Regions from separate parts of the Homo sapiens genome. Here regions 2 and 3 are each linked to region 1. The links are contacts of gene promoters, found by promoter capture Hi-C in human tissues and cell types (Jung and others, 2019). All regions are on one chromosome and are shown on one strand. The core of a region is centred on a gene start or on the middle of the fragment in contact, and the rest is flanking DNA. Distances in the headings are between cores, read along the strand shown. Region 1 holds the start of MRPL3 (mitochondrial ribosomal protein L3). Region 2 overlaps CPNE4 (copine 4). Region 3 overlaps NEK11 (NIMA related kinase 11).

The links. The method cuts DNA at HindIII sites, captures the fragments that hold promoters and counts their contacts. A contact is called where the count stands out against the background at its distance.
Region 2: a contact is called between a fragment that was not itself captured here and the fragment with the promoter of MRPL3 in region 1, in 1 of the 25 tissues and cell types used here (aorta).
Region 3: a contact is called between a fragment that was not itself captured here and the fragment with the promoter of MRPL3 in region 1, in 2 of the 25 tissues and cell types used here (hippocampus and stomach).

The regions. Positions count from the first base shown.
Region 1 is chr3:131,501,721-131,505,917 of GRCh38, reverse strand. MRPL3 (mitochondrial ribosomal protein L3) reads left to right here and starts at 2,947. Exons shown (of 10, transcript NM_007208.4): 1 at 2,947-3,188. The coding sequence starts at 3,097. It overlaps LOC105374114 (a long non-coding RNA gene), which reads right to left and starts at 3,319. Exons shown (of 3, transcript NR_189111.1): 1 at 3,214-3,319. RefSeq lists enhancers at 3,049-3,118, 2,625-3,311. The HindIII fragment of the contact is 5,057 bases long and covers 1-4,197 here.
Region 2 is chr3:131,721,586-131,725,782 of GRCh38, reverse strand. It overlaps CPNE4 (copine 4), which reads left to right. Exons shown (of 16, transcript NM_130808.3): 3 at 2,158-2,337. Among named protein-coding and RNA genes, the nearest start is that of MRPL3, 220 kb to the right of the region's middle. The HindIII fragment of the contact is 4,257 bases long and covers 1-3,928 here.
Region 3 is chr3:131,337,572-131,341,768 of GRCh38, reverse strand. All of the region lies in intron 17 of NEK11 (NIMA related kinase 11), which reads right to left. All of the region lies in intron 2 of NUDT16-DT (NUDT16 divergent transcript), which reads left to right. Among named protein-coding and RNA genes, the nearest start is that of NUDT16-DT, 42 kb to the left of the region's middle. The HindIII fragment of the contact is 4,382 bases long and covers 1-4,197 here.

The DNA of each region.
Region 1 (4,197 bases), core at 1,698-4,197:
TTGAAATCTGCTCCTTCTATGATGATTCTCTTGTATTGAACATGGCTTTAGTAATTCAAAAATGAATCTATTCCTAATGTTTTATTTAATAAGAGAAGGTTTATGAGATCATCTGTTGGTCTGAATTAGCGGAGTAAGAGTTATAGAACTGTACCACTAAAAAGAGAAAGTGCAAGTTATCTTCGTTCCAATAAGGAATTGAAATCTTAGAGAGGCAAAATGGCATTACAGTTTCAGGGTCTAAGGCAGTGTCTGAAGGATGACATCAGAAATAACAGGAAGCTCTAGGTCAGTGCCTGACTGCCCTAGAAAAGCCTAGGCTGGGTCCCTTGACAACTGGGCCTAGTAGCTGTCAGCAGCATATTACAGTGACTAAATCAAGTATGACACCACTCAGCCCTGGCTGGCAATCAGGAGACACATTTTTTACGACAGCAGACAAACCATGTTTTACTTTGATTCAGTTCAGCGGTGGTGCCTGCTGTCAAGGTCCTCCTTATGGACTAGGAGATATTTGGTACTATGGGAAAAGGTTAGACCAAATGGCTACCTCTTCAATCCTCACTGACCACTGCGTGTGATTACTTACCGATTTTCCTCTTTAGCCTTAAAGAAATTCCAAGGCAAGAGTAGTGACATATTTGTCATAGAGAGCCAAAGAAACAAAATGTCTAAAAGCATAAGCTCTATCTATGGTCACAGTCTTTGGCTCTACCAGTTAATAGCTGGGTGATTTTATTTAAGTTATGTAATCTCTGTATGCCTATTTTCTTAACTGTAAGATCCAGATAATTATACTATTGTCACAGCAGATTGTCATAACAATCAAGTGAGAAAATACACTGAGAGAGTAAAAATGAATACTATTAGTAACTGGACTGCAGTGTTTATAGCAGAACATCAATACAATATTTCTTTTTTTTTTTTTTGAGACGGAGTCTTGCTCTGTCACCCAGGCTGGAGTGCAGTGGCTCAATCTCGCTCACTGCAAGCTGCGCCTCCCAGGTTCACACCATTCTCCTGCCTCAGCCTCCTGAGTAGCTGGGACTACAGGCACCCGCCACTACGCCCGGCTAATTTTTTTTTGTATTTTTAGTAGAGAAGGGGTTTCACCATGTCAGCCAGGATGGTCTCAATCTCCTGACCTCGTGATCCACCCGCCTTGGCATCCCAAAGTGCTGAGCCACCACGCCCAGCCCATCATTACAATATTTCTTACAGACCGTACTGTAGGCCACACCACTGCAGCAAAATGACTAACAGTTCCTTATTCTGAGTGATTCCTGCTTTCTTATGAACATCATGCCCACTTCCTCTCTGTTCTTCCTGTCTCTAGAACAAAGACTATCAAGATATCCAATTGCTGAACTGTCCTTTCTTCTTGACAGCACCCATTCTAAAACAAGTTCCTGCTTCTCTGATGCCACTTTAAAATCACTCAGCCTTAAGTCCAAATTTCATTTCAAGCCCCTCCCAGGTCACTCTTTTGGAAACATCCTCAGACATATGCTGTCTTTTGCTGCATCAAGCTAATTAAACTTGACTTTGTATGAGTTCACGTTTTCTTCTAGTAGCCTTGGCTTATGGGCTTCCACAATGCTGAGCACATACTCTAGCACACTATATGGATAAGAAATGTTAGTTATTGGCAGTAGTACAGAAATCTTCTTATTCTCAACTTCTTGCATGTAGCACACCTCAAAACATGTTTGTTCAATGAAGAGCCATCCTTAAGTATCTGGGAAGCCAGGCAGCATGGCTAGAATGAAGAGATGTAGTTTTTCCTTCAAGGTCCAAAGTATTATTGAAAAGTGTCTAAGGTAACTGCAACAGCAATGAGTGGAATGAATGGACAAGCAAAGCAAAGATTTTTTAGCCCACTAAAGTCCAAGTAATGGCCAGGAATTGACCATTGTCTGGACCTGTTAAACCAAGATAGCCAGATCTCTAGTAAAAAGAGAAGGTTGAAATAGCTACACTTTAAAGTTCTTATTTCCAAATTTCTACAAACAGTAATCTGACAAATAAGGGAATTAGTAGAAGAATAAATGTCCTAGTCACATACATGGTTATTAGGCTAGATCTGGAACCCAAGACAGGGGATTTTTTGTGCAGGTGTATTAGCTATCTATTATTGCATAACAAATTACCCTAAAGCTTAATGACTCAAAAAAACGGTAATCATTTATTTTCTCTGGCAATTTCTCCTAGTCAGTAATTCATGAGCGGCCTGGCTGGGAGATTCAGGCTTAACGTCTCCATGAGTTGCAGCCGAGGACTGGTGGATCCACTTCCTAGGTGGCTCAGTCATGACTGGCTAGTTGATTCCTCTTTATATGTTCCTCCCTGCAGAGCTGTTTGAGTGTCTGCAGGAAATGAAGGCTAGCTTTCTCCACAGGGAGCAATCCAAGAGACAAAAACTGAAGTAACAATATGTTTTATGATCCAGCCCTAGAAGGCATACATCATTTCTATGGGTGTAGTCTATTGATAACACATGCCAACCCTGTTTCAGTGCCAACTCTGCTCCTCTGCCAGATGTGTTGTTTTGGACCAGCACCTAAATTCTGAGTCAGTTTCCTCATTTATAATAGAAAAATAAATACTTCCTTTCAGGACCGTTTTTTATGATTAACAAATATAGGATTATGAAGCGCTGCTTAGCATAATGCATTGCCTCACAACGGGCACTATTTAGAAGTGTCTTCATTTTCCTTAGCGTCCTCAGGAAGTCTGTCCTTATTCTTCTAAAGTTTAAACTCTGAACATCCCTTTTATTTTACCCCTGGAGAGGCGAGTCAGTCCCTTCCCACCCCTACCTACTCCAACTCACATCCAAAGTAGGACAACGGTGGAAGCAGAACTATAGTTTCCGGGGAGCGACTCGAGTGCCCGGAGTTCATTGTAAAACGCACCGGAAGTGGGTCCGGCGGCTTTCTTTCCGTCGCAGAGAGCATCGGCCGGCGACCGTTCCGGCGGCCATTGCGAAAACTTCCCCACGGCTACTGCGTCCACGTGGCGGTGGCGTGGGGACTCCCTGAAAGCAGAGCGGCAGGGCGCCCGGAAGTCGTGAGTCGAGTCTTCCCGGGCTAATCCATGCCGGGTTGGAGGCTGCTGACGCAGGTCGGCGCCCAGGTGCTGGGTCGACTCGGGGACGGCCTGGGTGCTGCCCTGGGCCCGGGGAACAGGTAGGAAGGTGTGAGGGTGTCCTACCTGCACAGTTGCGTCCTGAAGCAGTGGAATGGCCTGGTGCAGTTGGGCCTCCCCTGGGTGGAGGAGGAAGGGGCTCTGTTGAGACGTGGGACACAGAAGAATAAGGGCCGTTAACCTAAGGAAGCACGTTCTAAGGGGATTGAAGTGGTGATTTTTAAAAAACGCTTATGAGCCAGCCACTAGCAGCGAACGCTATTAACAGCAATCATATCTTACAATTAGTGAGCGTTTGCCAGGTACTAAGCGCTCTGCTAAGTGTATTAGGTGCCTTATGTAGCCTCACGGGAGCAAACTGCTATCATAAGGTTTACAGATAAAACTGAAGGTTAGGGAGGTGAGTTAATTTGCCCAAAGTCACTCAACTAATAAGTGGAAAATTAGGAATCTAGCCTGAATTTATCTGACTACAAAAGGAGAGTAGACTGCAGAAAGCTTTACTTCTGTTCTGACCCTCCATGCAAGAATTACACCCCTTCTTCCTGACCTCCGCCCACTAAGGTCTTTCTTGGTATGTTCACCTGTTCAGAGGTCATGCCTTTTGTGGATCTTTTAACTTTGCACACCCAGTTTCTTCACTTCTCTGAACCTAGGCCATGTCATTGCAGGGAGGAGGTGAGCTTGTTAGACAAAGATCAACATGCCACCTTCTGCCACCTCCACTGAATGTAAAACTATTAAGGTACACTTCCAAATGGGTTAGTGGCTTTTCATGTCTATAGGTAGGACTGTTTTTTGGGGAATATGTTTATCTGCGAGGAGAAGATGAATTTTTTTCTCCAGGGTAACGACTAACAGTTTAAATGTGAGCCTTATCCGAAGGAATGTGGGGAGTGAGGAAAAGGTTGGAGACCTGAAAAAAAGGTATACAGAATCCAAGCCCTTTCCCAAGGCCCTGACTACACTTTCCAATTTGTGACTTCCCTTTTCTATATTAAGTGGAGGAAGTTTTTAAATTGTGGTTTGGTTTTATTTATTTTTTCTTTT
Region 2 (4,197 bases), core at 551-3,050, 220 kb before region 1:
AAGGGTAATAAAAACAGCTACCTTATTAAGTGGGAAAATGAAGGGAAAAATACTTTGAGTAGGACAAATAAAGTACCTTCAAGTCAGCTTATCCCTGCAGACTACCAGTTTATGATCTCTAATTTCTATTATTCAAAACTATTATCCCTGAACAACAGAAAAATTATGCTGATATAGTAAATTCTTGTACCTGCACAAATGGCCAGTGGCATAATCAGTCCCATCACCCTCTGAATGAACATCATATAAGAATATAAAATTTAGCTCAAATAGAAGCTGGGTCTTCCTGGGGAAGCTGGAACAGGCAGATAACCTTTGGTCAGAACAGTAACTTGTAAAATTCTAGTCAGCAATGGGCTGGAGATTGGTTTTCTGTATGCCTATTTATTGGATGGGGACATAATCAGAATCATACTCTTCTCCTTGCAACCCGGATTGTCCATCCAACCAATAATGGCAGGTAGTGTTCCTTAAAGGACAATTTTCTCTCACATACATCCCTGCATAGGAAGGGCTAGGGCTGGAGACAAAGCACTGAACTGAAGAATGTTAGGGGTGGCTAGAACAAATATCAGATTTTCTTTGCTAGGCAACATGGACATGCATAATATGGTTAAGAACTGCTTTCCCTTTATTGAGAGACTATTTTCCTTTACTCATATGAAAGTGAGATAAATGCTTTTCATAGTTTGTGCTAACAAATGTCAGAAAACATCCAATAAACCATATTTCTATTTGAAAGCTGACAGTACATAGAGGTTCCAGTTGATTTGTAAAATAGGAAGGATGGGTATCTCTAGTACAGGGATGCTATAGAATCTTGGGTTATCTATAACTTAGTCTTTAAAAGCTTCCCAAAATATAAATGGTTTTGTATATTTTTACTTGTGACAAGTATGTAGGAAAAGAGCCTTAGCGATAAGGATCCTAGTAGAAAACAGATGGCATACCCAAACAGTTTAACCTAAAGGACTAAACTCTGTACACGGGAATGGGCAGGGTTAAAAGAGCCAAGAAAGAAAGTGAGGCATCCGAGACATCAGAGATAGCAACAACAGGAAGCCATTACTACCCCTCAATGTGAAGGGACAAGAGAGAGGCACTATGTTACCAAATCCCAGCAAAAGCTCCCTGTGCAGAAGGAAGTCTGCTAGCAGAATGTGTGTGTATAGAGGCATGCCTGCACCTCTCTGTTCTCCCATTCTCTGATCTCCTGCGAAGTCCTCCATTTGGCTGACTCCAACCAGAACCCAGAGGGCAAGGGTGCCAGGAAAATCAATCCATAGACATCAGTCTCCTATGTCACAGAATAGTGCAGAAAGTGGCAGAGATGTATTAATATCTGAGAGAGGGGGACAACTGAAAAACTATTATCACAGAAGACAAAGGAAATCATAGCTCATGGAATGTTAGAGCAGAAAGGAACTTTTCAACCTCTAATCTAATTTTCATTTTGTTGATGAGAAAACTGAGGCCCAGGGAATTGAAATGAATGGGTGAACATTATACACTTAATAAAGGGCATACTCGAGACCAAAGGCAGTTATTGTCTTATCTATTCTCATGGTTTTTCTACTTCATTATGCTGGAAATCATGGATTAGGAAACTTAGAGTTGGCTAAAATGAGACACCTACATAGCACTTTCTCCATTACTGTGCCCACCAGACATCACTAATCAATTACAGATTTCTTTCCTCCTGAGCCTAGATGTGACCTCAGGCACATTAGGCAGGACAAGGTTGAATCAATCATGAAATGCATCAATCAATCATTTATGCACCTGCATAAACCCAGTGTACTCAAAAATTTTTACTGTTCATAATGTTCACCCACTCATTTCAATTCCCTGGACCTCAGTTTTCCCATCAACAAAATGACATAATGATATAATGATACAATTTTGTATAATGCAAACTCATACAATGAGCTCTAAATCTTCAAGTTATTTACATGTCTAACATTATTTTCTTCCCTAAAACTCGTCTCATTCTCTGAAGGTATTGCCTGTACTTTGTACTTTTGGACTGCCCACCCAATGACTTGCTGGGGAGCATTTATGGTTGGGAAGAAGGGAAGTGCTCTGAGATGAATTTTCTTGAACGGTAATAATAAAAATAATCCTTATCTCTGATAGGTTTTCTCTTTCTCCTTGCAGGTTGACAGGACTGAGGTGATTCGCACCTGCATAAACCCAGTGTACTCAAAACTGTTTACTGTGGACTTTTACTTTGAGGAGGTGCAGCGCCTGCGGTTTGAAGTCCATGACATCAGCAGCAACCACAATGGGCTGAAGGAGGCCGACTTCCTTGGTGGCATGGAGTGCACACTTGGCCAGGTGGGTCAACAGACATCCCTTCCTCCTCCTTGCCATCCTAGGGCCTTTCTTCCTGCCCCCTTTCCCTCTCTTCCTTCATCTAATCCTTGCTTTTTCCTATTGATTGTATTTTCTTTAACATGCAGCATTTTACAACTTCCCAGGTGGTGTCATATCCATTATGTTTATGTAGAGATGATTCTGCAAGTCTGTACGATTTCTTATTTTGAAAAATTCAGAACTTTCTCTTCTGAATTCCCCCACTGTGTCACTCATTTATTCAACAACTATTATTGAGCACTTATGTGTCTGGCACTATGCTCTTTTCACATGTCTGTTATAGCCTTATCCTGTTTCACTATAAATTTCCATCTCCAACTCAGCTGTGAGAACCCCTATGCAGCAAGTATTTCTCATTCACATTTAGTCGACATCTCTGGTACCAAAAATAGCCCAAGGCAGAGGCTAAATGGATACTCAGTGAATGAATAAAAGCTCTTAATTTTCCAACAATAATATGAAATAAATATCAGTATTATATCCATTTTATCAGTGAGAAACCTGAGACTCAGAGAGGTTAAGTGATTTGATGAAGGCTCTACCTAATAAGTAGCAGTGTTAGGACTCTACTAGGTCTTCCTGACTCTAAACTTCATCATTTTGCTTCTGTAATACTTTTCCTTTTTTCCTTTCCTTTTTGTTGTACCCAGAAATGCAGTAAGTGAGTCAAAAAGTAAAAACAGTCCCTGTGCCCAGATAGTGGATAATCTTACTGGAGAAGGCATAGTAATATGCACTTCAAATAGAGCAGTTCATTACAAAATACCCTGGGCTCTCTATACAAGGTCGTAGACCTTAAAGGAAGAGAGAGCTTTTTTCTACTGGGTAGAGTCAAAGAAGGCATTGTGGCACCAAAATCTGAAAAAAACATTATCTAGGGATTGCAGAAGAAAGAGGAGGGGAGACTTCCAAGTAAGAAAGCAATATAAGCAACTCATAGGGGTCAGAACAAACGTGGGGGGGTATGGGGTGGGAAGAGACCACTTTCCCTGACTGAATCAAGATGCTGATTTACTGTGAAATTGATGAAGCTTTAACATCAGATCCCCTCTCTCATGTGGGCCCCTTCCATGGCTCTGTGTCACATTTTTATTTTGTACTTTTTTTCTCAAAGAGAGATTCCAAATTATATGTCTTAAGACCCACAAAATCTGGGTTCACCTCCTGTCAAGGTAAGGGTCAGGTTTAAGGATTTGTCAGGAAGAGTCTACCTGACAAAGAGATGGCAAGCATATATATTTGCTTGTTCATTTGTGCTTACCTTGCTTCATGCCACTTATCACTAAAAGAAATTTCTCCCAGTGAGCACTAAGAGACAAAATAGACAGTGTCCTCTGTTCCCCTTTTCCAGAAAATATAGTGATTAATTTTCTTATTCCTTTAATGAAAGTCAAAAGCCCAATACTGAAATACAGTTGAGGGGAGACAGAAAGAGAATCTGAAATATTCTCCATTAACATATGTTCTCTAATGACTTTTGAAGAGTTGATGGCAGATAGTTCAAAGGATCTTGCCAGGTACAATGTCCACTAAGTAGGTATTAAATGAATAAATGCATTGTGGATTTGAGATGAAATCCTGTTTCTATTTAAAAATGATTAAAATGGCATCTTTTATAGACATGTAAGCCATGCCAAGATTCTCCCTTAAACAATGGGCATCCCTCCTATGCATAAATTTTATATTTTGTCACAAGAAATAAAGGTAGATCCGGCCAGGCGCGGTGGCTCACACCAGTAATCCTAGCACTTTGGGAAGCCAAGGAGGGCAGATCACGAGGCCAGGAGATCGAGACCATCCTGGATAACACGGTGAAACCCC
Region 3 (4,197 bases), core at 801-3,300, 160 kb after region 1:
AAAAAAGCATTATTAGAGATAAAGAAAGTCACTACATAATAATTCAATTCACAAAGAAGAAAAAAAGAATTCTAAATGAGCATGCATCTAATAAAACAGAATCAAAATACATAGAGGACTACAAAGAGAAACTGTCAGATATATTCTCACAATGCTGGATTTTAATATACCTTGCTCAGTTATTGATAAGTGAAGCATTCAAAATATTAGTAATGATAGAAAATATCTGAATAACATACTTAATAAGCTGAACTTAATAGATACACATAGAGCAAGACATTCTTCCCAGGCTCTCATGTAACATTTGCGAAAACTGACCATGTGCTAGACAATTTAACCCTCAATAAATGCTGAATAATTGGTTTCATATAAAATCTAGTGTCTGACCACAATAAAATTGTTAGAAATCTGTAATAAAAATAAAGATTAAACATTTACACATGTGAGTAAATTTTAAAATAATACATTCTAAATAAATTACGGGTCAAAAACAAAATCAGTCATTCCATAAACAAACTCATTTTAGGCTGACAGAAAAGCTATAGGTGTTCTAGTCTTGGAATATTGCCGTGTAAATTTATTCTGATATTTGGAAAACACACTATATTCTGCAATGATGCATTTGAATTTTTAGATTCATAAATAGAAATTCAATTTAAGAGGACTCTCTTGCTGTTATCTAAGATGTGAGAAGGGAGGGCAGTATTCTCTGTGCTGTTCAAATTAAAAGAGTTCCTATGTTTCCTTTTTCAAAGAGAGGGACATGGGGTGGCAGGAACTATTCCTTTAGTTAGCTGGGTATCTCAAATAAAAAGAATTTATATTTTCATTGTTTTCTATTTCTTTCTATGGTGCATTTCCTTTCTAAATTTTATCATTTTCTTCAAGAAACAAAAGCCTTTTAAGTTTTTTAGGGATTGTCAAACATCATTTTAGTCCAAATACTTCATTTACAGGTTGTTTTGCCCAAGATTGAATTGGCAGTTGGGGACAAATAGGGGACTAGAGTCCAGGTTTCAGGACTCTCAGGACAGTGCTCGTTGGGCTGGATAATGGTCCCTTGACACAGGAGTCCTGAAGGAAGGTTCCCTAATGTTCCAAAATTTGAACTGCTTGGGGTCACATCCCGAATACGTGTTTGGCTGACTCCCTTGCTGATGAAAAACTATTAAACACCAAGAAAGCTCTTCTTCTCTCCCCTGCCCATTTCCTCCAAACTCAATCTCTCATCCTCCAAATTCCTTTATTACCTCTTCCTGTGCTTACCTTTCATTTATAAAAAAATACATTTTATCACATCTACTTATTTGCCCATCAATTATAGACTATGCTGTGTACCCTCTAATTATTTATCTCTATCTAATAAGGGCTCTAAAGAATACAGCCATAGCTGCTTAGTTTTATAAGGATAATATCTAAAATGTCCTCATATTTTAAATATTATTTTAATTTTGAATCCCATACTTACAGAAAAGTTACAGGAATAGTATAAAGAACTATTTTGTCCCTGAGTCTTTTGAGAATAAGTTGCTACCCCAATGTCCCCCACTCATACTTTGTGTGTATTTTGTACGAATAAAAACACTTCTACATAACCACAAAACTGCCACCAGAATCAGGAAATTCACATTAATAGATCTGATTCTGTTATCTTGTATATGGAAACATTCAGATTTCCCCCAATTGTCCAATAACACTGCCTGATAACAAAGCATTCAAAATAATCATGAGTTCCATTTACTTGTCATGTCTCTTTAGTTTCCTTCAATGATCTGGATGCTAGAATGTCCCTCAATTTGCATTGCTCACGCCTTTGGGATTTACCAGCTCTTACCCTCTGGTCATCCATCCTTTTATGTATTAGCCTAAAGGATGACTTCAGGAGTAGTGTCTTTCATTATCTTGGGGTATTATTAGAGAGCTCCACCTACACCAGTTCAAGAAGGTTCTTACTGCTCTTGGGTAAAAACAAAGCTTTGATAGTAACAGGAGAGGGATCTTGCCACTTCCAGGTGCCTACTAATGATTCTTCCATGCAATCTGTTCCTGTTCCTGTTTACTGTAAGAAACAAGGACTCCTCTTAGGGAAGGGAAGCAGCTTGTGAAGTGAGTTTCCAGAAGCTCAGAATACAATGCTTTGTCCCAAATATTTCCCTGTACCCCCACCATCACACTTTATAAATCCCACCAGTGAAGGGTACATTCACACAGCTGAAGAAATCACTTCTCAAAGCAGCTGTTAGCTTCTTAGGATAAGGTTCAGGGGCTGCAAAGATGAGCACAGTGAAAAGACCGAAGCCCCGTTAGACACTCTAAGTGCTGGCTGGGATTCTGCCACCAACTTTCTGGGTGGCACTGGGTGAGTGACTTTCACTTTTCAGAGCCTCAGTTACTTCATCTGCAATGTAGACTAACTGATTTCTAAGGATTCCTTCAGCTCTAAATGTTCAATTATAAGTGAGAGCTCAGGAAGACATTCTTTGCTTATAGGTGATCGATAATTATTTGTTGAAAAAATGAAGTAAAAAATGACTTAAAAGCCAGAAGAAAATAGACACTTTGTGAGTCATGAATTTCACTCCTTTTAAAAATAATATCTGAGTAAGCAAATTCTTTTTAAGGGCTTTCAATCATGAGTAATTCTTTCTCAGGGAAAGGAGGGGAAAATAGAAGAAAACTTGTTTTTCAAAGAGTCTGTTAAGTCCCAGGAATGTTTTGTTTTTATTTCATCTTTGGGATTCCCTCTTTTATTTTTTATATATTTTTTAAATTGATAAAAAAATATATATAACAAAATTTCTTCTTTTGAATGTACAGCTCTATGAGTTTGGATAAACTCATTCAGCCATCTAACTCACACCTCAACTGAGATACAGAGCAATTTCATCACACTCCAGAATTCCCTCATATCCTTTTGTAACCAAGTCCTCCCTCCACCCCTTGGTGATAACTGACCTGTTTTTGTTCCTTCAGTTTTGCCTTTTCCAGAATGTCATATGAATGGAATCATTCAGAATGCAGCTTTTAAAGAACTGGTGCCTTTCAATTAACATAGCATCTTTGAGATTCATCTAAACTGCTGTGTGTATTATAATTTGTTCCTTTTATTGCTGATCAGTGTTTCACTGTACGGATGTGCTGCAGTTGGTTTATCCATTCATAGCTGACCAATATTTGGGTTGTTCCTAGTTTTTGAAGATTGTGAATAAAGTTGCTATATGTATTCATATGTAGGTTTTTGTGTGGACATATATTTTCACTTGACTTGGATAAATACCTAGGAGTGGAATTTCTGGGTTGTATGGTAAGTGTATATTTAACTTTATAAGAAACTGCTTATTGCTTCTCAGCCGTTTGGTGAAGATCAAGTGTGAAGAAACCACTCAACTGTTTTCCAAAGCAGATGTTCCATTTTGCATTCCCACCAGCAGTGTATGACAGTCTTAGTTGCTCCATATCCTTGCCAGACTTAGTATTAAAAAAAAAAAAAAAAAAAAAAAAACCAGCTGGGCGCCGTGGCTCATGCCTGTAATCCCAACACTTTGGGAGGCCGAGGCCAGTGGATCACGAGGGCAGGAGATCAAGACCATCCTGGCCAATATGGTGAAACCCCGTCTCTACTAAAAATACAAAAATAAGCCGGGCATGGCGGCGTGTGCCTGTAGTCCCAGCTACTCGGGAGGCTGAGGCAGGAGAATTGCTTGAACCCAGGAGGTGGAGGCTGCAGTGAGCCAAGATCGTGCCACTGCAGTGACCTGAGATCACGCCACTGCCCTCCAGCCTGGGTGACAGAGCAAGACTCCGTTTCAAAAAAAAAGAAAAAAAATTTATGCCAAGCACTTGATATCTATTTTTTAATGTGTTATTTACACAATCATATGAGGTATGCGATATAACTCCTGTTTCACAGTTGAAGAAACTGAGGCACAGATGTTAAGTATCTTAACCACTAAATGGCACTACATGGAGGGGGGGTTCAGATTGATTCTCATTCAGGCTTTGCTCCTAGCTAGCTGTGCAGTCTAGTCACTCAGTTCTGTAGGCCAGTCACTGTCTTCCTTTATAAATGAAGACATTAACTTCTGGAACAATTTCTAAGCTGATTTTTATTTTTATTTATTTTTATTTATTTATTATTTTAAATTTTATTATTATTATACTTTAAGTTTTAGGGTACATGTGCACAATGTGCAGGTT